Linked DNA regions of Homo sapiens: all the other regions are linked to region 1. The links are contacts of gene promoters, found by promoter capture Hi-C in human tissues and cell types (Jung and others, 2019). All regions are on one chromosome and are shown on one strand. Each heading gives the region's core, a stretch centred on a gene start or on the middle of the fragment in contact. The rest is flanking DNA. Distances are from core to core; before and after follow the strand shown.

The links. The method cuts DNA at HindIII sites, captures the fragments that hold promoters and counts their contacts. A contact is called where the count stands out against the background at its distance.
Region 2: a fragment that was not itself captured here is called in contact with the fragment with the promoter of AKAP5 in region 1 in 1 of the 25 tissues and cell types used here (hippocampus).
Region 3: a fragment that was not itself captured here is called in contact with the fragment with the promoter of AKAP5 in region 1 in 8 of the 25 tissues and cell types used here (H1 embryonic stem cells, aorta, hippocampus and 5 more).

Annotation. Positions count from the first base shown.
Region 1 is chr14:64,463,602-64,467,474 of GRCh38, reverse strand. It overlaps AKAP5 (A-kinase anchoring protein 5), which reads right to left and starts at 1,976. Exons shown (of 2, transcript NM_004857.3): 1 at 1,862-1,976. It also overlaps a transcript of ZBTB25 not described here. RefSeq lists silencers at 1,702-1,771, 1,782-2,181. The HindIII fragment of the contact is 11,787 bases long and covers 940-3,873 here.
Region 2 is chr14:64,521,839-64,525,711 of GRCh38, reverse strand. ZBTB1 (zinc finger and BTB domain containing 1) reads right to left here. Exons shown (of 2, transcript NM_001123329.2): 2 at 761-3,873. The coding sequence ends at 2,066. All of the region lies in intron 2 of HSPA2-AS1 (HSPA2 and ZBTB1 antisense RNA 1), which reads left to right. Among named protein-coding and RNA genes, the nearest start is that of HSPA2-AS1, 17 kb to the left of the region's middle. The HindIII fragment of the contact is 4,162 bases long and covers 116-3,873 here.
Region 3 is chr14:64,496,638-64,500,510 of GRCh38, reverse strand. All of the region lies in intron 1 of ZBTB25 (zinc finger and BTB domain containing 25), which reads left to right. Among named protein-coding and RNA genes, the nearest start is that of ZBTB25, 5.3 kb to the left of the region's middle. The HindIII fragment of the contact is 7,112 bases long and covers 1-3,873 here.

The sequences.
Region 1 (3,873 bases), core at 727-3,226:
TACAATTTTGACATTTTCATTTAAGTACTGTATCTGCTGTATCACATGTTTCCACCATAATCTGCACATAGTTGGAAGTCAGTAAGAGTAGTAATAGCTGACATTTATTGAGCAATTCTTGGGTATTAGGCAGTGCATGCACTTTTACATACATCTCTAATCCTCACCACAATATTACAAAGATGGTGGTATCACCACGTACAGATGAAGCAATTTGGCTGAGATTACGGCAGAGCTGTAACAGAGCTCAGATTAACACAAGATTGCTTGTTGCTTAAAGCTTATGTTCTGAAACTGGGCTTTAAGAGTTTCGTCAGAAAATGAATTGTTTGGGGATACTAATCTGCAGTGTTTCATTAGTAAAAAAATTAAAAAATTGATTAATGGTCATTTAACCATAAGGCACTTATCAACTCATAATTGAACCACGAGTAGACTGAGTTCTTGTCATTTGAAAACCAAGCTTTTGAAATTCTTTATATTTTATTTTTTTGGTTCAGGAACTAATTTAAAAGCCAAAAATAAGTTGGCAAACTATGCAATTGGCAAACTTAGATAATATAAAGGTGTATTGAAAATTTAATCCTTAGAATGGTATGATGGCACCAAAGAATGGAAATGGGAGGTGATTATCCAACAAAGATCCTATGAATTTTAGTGGGTGGATGCCCTAAAATAAGCAAAGGGACTCATTCTTTATATTGTTTTTATGTAAATCCTTCACTGAAGTTTCATTTGGGTAACCCATAATTTTATGAACTGTAGAAGGAACTGGAACCCTGAAAATCAGTTTATGATCTAAGTAAATATTATCTTAGGTTGGGTGTTTCATACTGTGTGCCTCTAACAGAAAGATAAAGTCATTCTAGAACAATGACGGAACTAAAATATGAACATTTGACAGTGTTTCTCCTCACAATGTTTCAGTGAGCACTAGAACCTAAGCTGATAACTGTTTAAATCTTCTCACCTCTTGTGAGTTTTCAGCACCTGAGCATTTTTGTTAAGCAGAGGCTGTATTACCACATAATAGAAATATTGAAATGAGATGTTTAGGAGTCTGTCATTGGAAACTAACCTGGATTGCGCAAAGACAATCGTTTGAGAAGCTCACTTGAATGTATCTCACATACTAGAAATAAAACGAATACCCAAACAGAAACTTAACTAACGAGGGAAAATAATGCAGTCTGTAGACAATAAAACTTTGCAGAATGTCAGACTGCAAATGATTCGCTCTTAACCAGCAAGGGTAGCTTTATCGCCTCAGGAAATCTTAAAGTCCCTGTGCTCATTTCCTGATGGAATTGCAAGTCTCATGTCACAGAAAACACCCCCTTTCCTTTTTCCCTTGAGCAGCCAGTACCCGAGGAAAGCAATGCATCTTTCCCAGCACCAGATACGGACCACGAAGCTTCCTCCTGGAGGAAGGAATCTCGAATTCTGGCTTGACGCCCCTTATGGCAGGAGACAGAGCGCAGGATAAAGTACTCAAAAAGGAAAATGCCGGGGGCGTGGAACAGATAACCCAGCTTCAGGCTGTCTGCAGAATTATAATGTAATGGCCAGAAACCCAAAATCACATTTCTCAAAGAGGGATAAAGAAGGAAAAAAGCCACCGGCAACCCATGCTTCTAAGACAAGCTGTAACGCGAAGGGGATAGGTGGGCAGACCTGATGAGGGTCGCCCTGGCCGCGGATTCCAGCGGACAAGCGACCTCCCGCGTTCTTACTCCCAGCACCTCAGAGGGCTCGGATACCCCGTATCCAGTGGGCACCTCTTGCCCACTCCGCGGTCCGCGGACCGGACATTGCCCCCGACCCTCCTCCCCCGCAGGCTCCCCGCCCTGCCTTTACTTACGTAGGGCGTCGGGGTCCTTGGCCAACACTGCTCCCGAGGTGGCGGCGCGCTCGCGGGGCCCGCCGCCCAGGCCTCCAGGGAGCCGCGGTCGCACCCGGAGCAAGGCGCCCTCTGCAGAGCCCGCCGCCGGGTGCGCCCCCTCCCCACCGCGCGGGGACAGACAGCAGGCAGCGCCAATGCGAGCGGAGCGGAGCGGGCGGGCAGGGGCGGGGCGACCGCCGGAGGCGCGGGGCGGCGCGGGCGCCGGGACCCACCTGCAGCAGCAGCCTGCCTGCCTGCCGCGGGGAAGCCCATCGTGCTCCGCCCGGGCGCCAATCTCCACTGCCAGACCACATCAGCGCCGAGGCGGGGACCGCAAGAGAGCCAGCCGGAAGGTTCGGGGGGCGGGGGAAGGCGGGGGGGACCAGGGCAATGAACCCCGCGTTTTCTGAGACGCTAAATAGTGAGGTCCGGTTTCAAATTATAGACAGTCGCATTACACATCTCCTCTCCTCCCCCTCAGAATATTTAAAGACAAGGCAGACATCGCATTTTAAAAGCAGGATTCAAAACTGTGCATAGAATAGCGAGGTCATGTTTGTTTGAAGCGAAAATTACATATATAAATGGAAACAGAAAGAAACCCGACTTTCTCAGGAGTGGCTTGAGTGTCAGATCATCGTGGTTCATCGCCAAACAGGCTTTCAAACCTTTGTCTCCCAGTGGGAAGCAGGTGGAGGTGATTGGTGCAGAACTTTGGCCTGCAGGAGCAGCTGCATCTCTATGCGGACAAGGTGAGAAAGGCACAGGAACCCAGCTCCATCCATCTTATACCTTACATAGTTCCAAAAATAAGTTGAGGTAGCTTACAAGTTACCCATGATTCCCTTCAGGACATTCCCTATGAGGGCATTCCTGGGAGCTCCAGCTGTAAAATCTAGTAGGATCCATCACAATCCCAGCCTCCTCCTCTGGCCCCCATAGCATAGCATCCAGATGAAGAACCTGGTAAGGTGAAGTGAAGAACTACTGAAAAGCAGCCGCGTTCATCTCCTTTCTTCAACAGGATCACGACCTTAGGGAGTGTAAATGTCAGGTGTCCATTTTTGTATTTTTTCCGGAAATGTTTTATATTTGTAAGATTCTGTAGTTTCCACAGAGGCTTATCAAGGAAAGAACTCTTGAGACACAAAAGCAAAGCCAAATATAAGCTGTCAAGATCTTAAAATTACAGATAAAAGAGGCAAGAGTTGTAAAACAGGAAAATCCATAAGCATCTAGTTTAGTTGTAATTAAGAATTCAGGGATGGGCGCAGTAGCTCACACCTGTAATCCCAGCACTTTGGGAGGCCAAGGCAGGAGGATGGCTTGAGTCCAAGAGTTTGAGACCAGCCTGGGCAACATAGGGAGACAAAAAAATCTAAAAAATTAGCTGGGCATGGTGGTGCACGTATGGTCCCAGTTACTCAGGAGCTCAGGAGGCTGAGAAGGGAGGATCACTTGGGCCCAGAAGGTCAAGGCTGCTGTGAGCCACTACTGCACCACTGCACGCCAGCCTGGGCAACAAAGTGAGACCCTGCCTCAAAAAAAAAAAAAAATTCAGTCAGCCTTGTTCACTCAGCAAACACGTCTATCGAAATGGTCTGCGTATCTCTCTATGGGTTGCTAGCGCTGCTTGTTGCCAGTTTTGAACTTTAAGCCAAAAGAAATCCATTATGCTTATAAGCAATTGAGAACTATTCCTTATTGAGATCCAAGGTTTCTCAAAACTAGCAGACCTGGGAGTTTGCAAGAGTTTCAGGCAAAAAATAAGATGAGCTTATTTAGGTGAAGACAGGGTAAAATAGCTGTCTTATTTTTATTTTTATTTGAGACAGGGTCTTGCTCAGGCTGGAGTGCAGTGGTACAATCCCTGGCTCAAGCAATCCTCCCACCTCAGCCTCCCATGCAGCTGGGACCACAGGTATGCGACCACATGCCCAGGTTCTTCTTCTTTTTTTTTTTTTTGTAGAGATGGCGTCTCCCTATGTTGC
Region 2 (3,873 bases), core at 947-3,446, 58 kb before region 1:
TACATATCAAAAGACTAAATTAAGCCCCCTTCCTAATGGAATAGATAATCGTTTCTTCAAAAAGTGGTAGTATTTAGAAAAAGCCCTATTCTTTAACAATGGGGAAAGCCACTGCAAGAAAAATTTTGATGAGTCACGAAAAAAGTGATCTCAAATAAATTATGTCCATTATGATACTATATACTGTAGTTTGGAAACTTGGTTTATCTGATCTCTTTATACCACTCTCTGATGGTCTCTGGGTTAGAGAACTTTTATCTGGTTCCTATCAGTAATATACATACCACATTTCATTTTAAGTTGGATTTCAAATTTAATTACTTGATAAACTATTGTATCTAAGTAAGGGTAAGATGAATCACTTTTCCTGCTTTTGCTGTTAAATTTTTAATTTTTGTGTGTATTCTACCCGTCCCCTGCCTACTTCCCGTTATTTGAATTCTGCACTTGGTTCCTGTGCTGTTCCTATCCTTACTTAACACTTCAACATATCCCCACAAATCTGAGCTCACATGGTGCTCTAATGCTTTCAACTAAATCTGTACTCACCAGTATGTCTCTCAGTTCTTTTGGCAACTTGTTCTTTTATGTAAATTGTATACAAAATATGATTTGCATATTTTAAATATGATGTGAACAAAAAGAGCAATGCTATTAGTGTTCAGAATCACAAATTTATATTTTTAAAATTAGGAGTTAATTAAAATCCCTTTCATTATGAAAAGGGTACTACATTGCAAGTAATTCACATTAAAAGGCATTCTATTCAATAGATGTGTTTATTGGTGGGTCAGTTTTGCCAATGTTTTAATTCACATGTAATTATGTAGACCCTGTGTCAGCAACAACTAACAATACTACTACTTTAACTGAAAAAATGATAAACTGTTTCCATTGATATACTCTGTGATTATTTTATAATCCTCAAGTTTTATAGTCTTTTACAGAAAAAAATGATAATAAAATATGGCGATAAACTGCAATTTGCCACATTTCCTCCAAATCTTAGACAGTATAAAACACAAGACATTTTTTTGTGCACTCTACTTTTATAGAACAACCAGGTTTATAATTGATCTCTTTATTTTATTAGATTTATCAATATACATGGAAGCTTTCTCAAATCTCAAAGTTCCAGAAGTATGTATTGTAAAAAATCATCTTTTCCTTTAGAGGTCATATTCTTAGAGAGCTATTAAAGTCTATTTATAAACAAAAATAATTGATAAGCTAACACACTTTAGAAATCAGAATATTTTAAATTAAAATATTTTTAATGAATACAAGATATGTCTTTTTAATTAACTATCATAGTTAAATTTAATATCACAAAACAAAATGGCTTATCCCCACTAATTTTTCAAGTGAGGTAAAGCCACTGGAATTTACACTTAATATAAGTTTTAAATGTGATAATTAAATGATAATATTTTATCAATTATAGGAAATATTCATTTATAAAAATTTCCTCAGGTTCATCAATCTTTTTAGGCCAAGTTTGAGCCCATGTCAACCTTAAAGGTTAGATTCAGTGCACCTAACTTGCCTAATAAGCTTGTCAATTTAAGAATATGAATTTCATTAATAAGGGGGAATAAAGAGTAGTTAACTCACTAAAAGCAAACGGGATAGTTTCAAATAATTACTTAAGGAATTTTTAAAATTTAAACAGAAATGGCCAATGATTCTGGGTTTAAAATTTCACAGGATAACCTTAAAAAAAAAAAAACACATAGAAATAGTGAAGTCATCACCTTATTGATGAAAAACTAAAGTTTAATAGTCATTGAATGGGTAACAACCACTTGTAGTCTACATTTAAAAATTTTAATCATAGCTAAGAAAAACTAAAAACAAATAATTCTATTAAGAAACAACAAAAATGATAAACATTTAATACCTAAATGTAGATACTTAAAATCCTAAACAAAAATATTAAAGTTAAAAGGGCCTTGAAATTTGTTTCTAACAAATCATCTTATATAATCAATTCCTAAATAGCTCATATCCTTTGCTTTGGTGTTTTATCTGCTATCATCTAAACATTAGTACAGTAGAAAATCACTCAGGTTCTTTTCAAATGCTTGGCATTATAATGTGATCTCATATCTTTCCTCAAATTAAATTTTGCTCCACATATTCCACATGTATACAGATGAACATCCATGTGCTGCTCCAACTGTTCATTATTTGGGAATATCTGAAAGCAGACCTGGCATATAGTCTCACCAGCAGATAAATGAGAAATCATATGCCGTACATGGTCATGTTTTCTGAAGTTTCCTTGATCACAAATGGAACAGACATACCTGGCCATGCCTTTGTGCATATCATTGTGCAGTCGCAACTGACGCTCTCTTAAAAACTGCTTTCCACATGTTTGACAAACAAACTGTTTTTCCTTAGTATGAACAGTATAGTGTTCTCTTAAGTGACACCGCTGATAAAATCCTTTTCCACACAGATTACAAAAATGCTTTCGTCTGTGATCTCTTTCATTTTCTTCCATGATGGCACTCTTAAACATATCTTGATCTAAGCAGCTAGACATATGTTCAACCACTAGATTTTCAGTTTCAAAACGCTGGCCACAATTAGGACATCGAAAAGGGCAGGCAGAATGTTTAAATAACTGCTTTTTTTGGATACTGTTTATCTGGTAATGATTGTCCCTAAAATCATCCAGCATTTCAACAAACATATCTCTTATTTCGGACTGCTCATCAGGATTCTCTTCCAAGTCCATTTTCTCCTCAGTATTTCCTAACCCATTCATGGTCAGATCTTGGGGCTCGCCACATCGTTGAGCATGTTCCTGAAGCTGCCTACCCTTTACAAGTATTTGTCCACATTTACCACATGCACAGATATTTTCAATGTGTTTGGCTAAGTAATGAGATGACAGGTCCTCCTCGGTTATTGTAAGTCCACACAGCTCACAAGATGCATTTTCAGCATCCTCTTGTACTGGACTGCTGTTGTTAGGGGGCCTCATATTCTCTAAACCACCTCTTTCATCAGCACTTACTGACATTCGAGGTTTTAGAGTTTTCCTACCACTTTTTTTTATGCTGACATCTTCTTCAACATAGTATCTATAAAATGGCTCTTCAGGTTCATCTTCTAATTCATCATTGTCAGTGGATTCATTACAGTCTTTATCAGTAACTTTAATAATGTTAAAGTCTTTCAGTTCATCTGTAGGAATATCTTCTGGCTCCATCTTAATAATAATCCTTTTCCTCTCAGCAGCTCTGCTTTTCTCTTCGCTTGCTATTTCAGACTCCACTGTGCTACTTTTTCTGCTTCCAGTGGTTGAAGCTGAATCATCAGCAGCCTGGCTTGTGTCTCCTCTGTATTTGTCCGTCTGTGCAGAAAATGTTTTGGAAGAATCTTTTTCACCAAATTCAGCTTTGATGTTACTGTCTTTTCCATCTCTAATATCTACTATTCTATGGTAAGATCTTGTGTTTTGGTATAAATGTCTGTTAGTACAGGTTAGCACATGCTCATCTAATAATTTTTCACAGCTAAAGCCAAATCCACAGCTATCACAGGTAAAACTCCGCCCAAAGCGTCTTGACACACGTTCTTTTGGAGTAGATAATTTGGACACGGAACTTTTTTTACATACATCAAATAGTGGCTCAGGAAAATTACCTAATTGTAAAGACTCTTCATCAGCCTCTCTATTATGTGGTGTATTTACCGTTGAACTTGGCTCTGCACACCACCTGTTGGCTTCATTGCCATTTCGAGCCACAGTATCTTCATACATTCTTACCCCAAATATCATTTTGCTGTTCTGTTTGCTGGAAGCAGAAGAGGAACATTTTGAACTAGAACAATCTGCATCCTGGATGTCTTCTAAAC
Region 3 (3,873 bases), core at 578-3,077, 33 kb before region 1:
TTGCTAGCAGGAATTTTCTTTCTCTCTCTCTCTCTTTTTTTTTTTTTTTTTTTTTTGCTTTATTGGGAGAAAAAGTGCTTAGAGTGTTCAGTTATTTTTTATATTTTTCTAATTCATTTCTTCTCTGGTTACAAATCAGTCATGCATGGATGTTTTATTTTTTCTGAAATCTCCAAGCACTTTAAGCAAAGGTTTTTATTAGCCCACTTGAGTAGTGTGTTCATGGGAGTATACTTCCATTGCGAAAGAAGTATTGGTTTACTTGTATCCAGAAGTTTTAGTTACTCTTGCCTGTACTGTATTCTAGGTCTGTACTAGCATTATAATTTTCCATCTTTCTCCTGTCCTTTGAGTACCTTATTTTTTCTTTTAGAAATTTGGTTTGTCTTTAATGGACTGAGAGGAATCTTTTCCTTTCTTTCTCCGGGTTCTGATTTTTTTTAAAGGTCTATTAACAATTTGTGCTTACTGTTGTTAGTATTCTTGTGTGCTTGGCTTTATCAGGCATCCTACAATGTAATGTTGGTTAGATGGGAATTAGAGGTGCTTGGAGGTTGGCTATGTCTGCCAACAGGCAGGAGGCCCCAAACTAACGTTTCCCAGTTCCATTAAAGGTTTCTAGAGCATAACTACTCTTCCTGTTTCATCTACCCCCTCCATACCCTCTTTGCTAACATTCTCAGTAGATCTTAATAAGCAGATGTCTGGAATTACAGCAGATTTTACCTCAAACAGTATTTTCAGATTTAGAATTTCTGTATCATTTTTAGGTGTTATGAAATCCAATCTAGGTGTAATGGAGTAAGAGAGTAAATATTTCTTTTTCCTAAATACTATTTGAAAAGAAGTCTGAAAATAGTGTGTTCCTCCACCCCCCCACCCATGCCCATCCTGCCAGTTTAGGAGCACTTTTGATTCTTTTTTTTCTTTTTCTTTTTTTTTTTGAGATGGAGTTTCACTCTTGTTGCCCAGACTGGAGTGCAATGACACAATCTCAGCTCACCACAACCTCTGCCTCCTGGGTTCAAGCGATTCTCCCGCCTCAGCCTCCCGAGTAGCCGGGATTATAGGTATGTGCCACCACACCTGGCTAATTTTGTATTTTTAGTAGAGACGGGGTTTCTTCATGTTGGTCAGGCTGGTCTCGAACTCCCGACCTCAGGTAATCCACCTGCCTCGGCCTCCCAAAGTGCTGGGAGCGAGCCACCATGCCTGGCCATGGAGCACTTTTGTTTCTTAATCTGGCCAATATTTTAAGGTTACAATTAGAATTACAGTTGTTTATATTTGTTCATTTAATGTAGTCAACATAATTTCCATACTTTGAACACTCTTACGGAATTGTTTATTTATAGAGACTAGTATAAAGTTGTTCTATCTTACTTAGTTTGAACTAATCCAGAGTTATACAATCTAGAAAGTAAAGAAAGTTTTTATTGTCTCTTAAATATCAATGTAATTGTAGAGTGTGAAATAATTTCTTGGGTTTCCTTGGTCCCGTGTTCTTCTGAGGCAGTGGTTCTTAACTGAGCAGTCACGTTAGAATCACCTGGGAAGCTTTTTAAAAAAAGAATCTGGGCTGGGCGCGGTGGCTCACGCCTGTAATCACAGCACTTTGGGAGGCCGAGGCGGGTGGATCATGAGGTCAGGAAATCGAGACCATCCTGGCTAACACAGTGAAACCCCGTCTCGACTAAAAATACAAAAAAATTAGCTGGGTGTGGTGGTGGGCGCCTGTAGTCCCAGCTACTCGGGAGGCTGAGGCAGGAGAATGGCGCGAACCCGGGAGGCGGAGCTTGCAGTGAGCCGAGATCGTGCCACTGCACTCCAGCCTGGGCAACAGAGTGAGACTCTGTCTCAAAAAAATAAAAATAAAAATAAATAAACAAATAAACAATCTGGCCGGGAACAGTGGCCTACGCCTGTAATCCCAGCACTTTGGGAGGCCAAGGCAGGCGGATCGCCTGAGGTCAGGAGTTCAAGACCAGCCTGGCCAACGTGGCGAAACCCCATCTCTACTAAAAATATAAAAATTAGCCAGGCGTGATGGGCACCTGTAATCCCAGCTACTCAGGAGGCTGAGTCCGGGAGAAGCACTTGAACCCAGGAGGCGGAGGTTGCATTGAGCCGAGATCGCGCCATTGCACTCCAGCCTGCAGCCTGGGCGACAGAGCGAGACTCTGTCTCAAAAAAAAAAAAAAAAGAATCTGTGCCTCACCCCTAGCAATTCAATTCTGTTTGGGCTAAGCCTGGGTTGGGACTCAGACATCAATACAGCTCTGCATAGAAGGTTTTACAGTATAGTCAGCAATAAGAACCTCTGTTTCAGGATAAAATGATTTCTACAAACATTGTTTCATTCTCTACATAATTAAATGTCACACCTCTACAGTCATGTGAAAGTTCCATTAAAAAGTTAGTCGCTATATAAAGTCTTTTATCATATGGCACTTGAAATATTTTGCTTTTGCCTTTGTATTTATAGCCATGAGTAAGTAGCTCAAAAAAGATGTACATATTCCTCTGCCAACTTTCCTGTCTCCTTGTCTGAATGAAAATTCATCATAAAGTCTCAGTGGTAAGCATTGACAGAGAAAATACCTAAGACTGTTTTCCTACAGAAACAGTCGTCTTGCTCTTTTTGTTCCTTTTTTATTAAGGATTCTTACAGCCTGAGAGAATGAAGAGCTGTGTAGTCCAGGATATCCGGCTGGCTACCATAGATCTGAGAGTCCAGTCTAGTACAGTAGATTTTTCTAAATACATAAGAATCAAAGATATGTATTGAATATCAAGCCAGCTTTAAACAAACATAGATACTAGTATAAAGTTGTTCCATCTTAATTTGAAGTAATCCAGAGTTACTACAATCTAGAAGGTAAAGAAGGTTTTTGTAATCTCTTAAATATCAATGCTAAAACTATTATGATAATGTATCACTTTGATAACAGATAAAACTTTTAAAAATGTAGCACTCATATTTTGATTCTGGTATTTATAAGTATAATAAAATACTTTATTTTTCCATAATTTCTCTCACATCTTAAAATTCTCACCAGAAATTCTCAAATGTAACTTCTAAGCTCTTTCTGTATTCATGGGAAACTTTAGCTATTTCACATACTAGAGAAAATAAAATAGACAGTCAAAGAATGATGAGCAAAGGCTATACAAAAAGTCTAGCTAATAATTTGCAGAGTAGGTTGTATTAGAAAATGTTCTAATAACTCAATGGAATGGGGCTATTGATTTGAAGTAAAATCTGGTATATTACAACATCAAAGATCTCCTATTATGCAAAACAAGTTTGAATGCACCTCATGTGTACTTGGTGTTTTTTTTTTAATAGATTTTAATTTGTTTCATTTTATACACTTGAAAAGTTTACTCCCTTATTTGATTCAACATATTTGCAAAATCTGCCAACAGTGTAAATGTTGAAAGTTCTAGATGGGGTTTTGAAGAAAGGGCCCTGGGTTTAAACTCAGTCTTGATGTATTATCAGCACCATTTAATAGCTAGTTGTTTGACTTCAGGTATGTTTCCTGCCTTCTCTGAGCCTGTGGTTTCTCAGCCATAAAATAGAGCTGATAGTACCTGCTCTACTACCTCACAAGATTTAAAAGAAAAAAAGATAGTGTAGGGCAGTGGTTCTCAAAGTGTAGTCCAAGGAGCCACTGGAGGTTTCATGGGTCAATAAGGATCTCCCTTATGTAAGAACAGATTCTCAATATACTTGAACCAAAACAAGAGATGACAACAGATTGAATGCAGAATCAGATAAGAGAGTCCAGCTGTATCTGTTAAAGCCAGATATTAAAGAGGATTGCAAAATGTAAATTAATATCACCCTTCTCACTTGTTTTTGAAAAA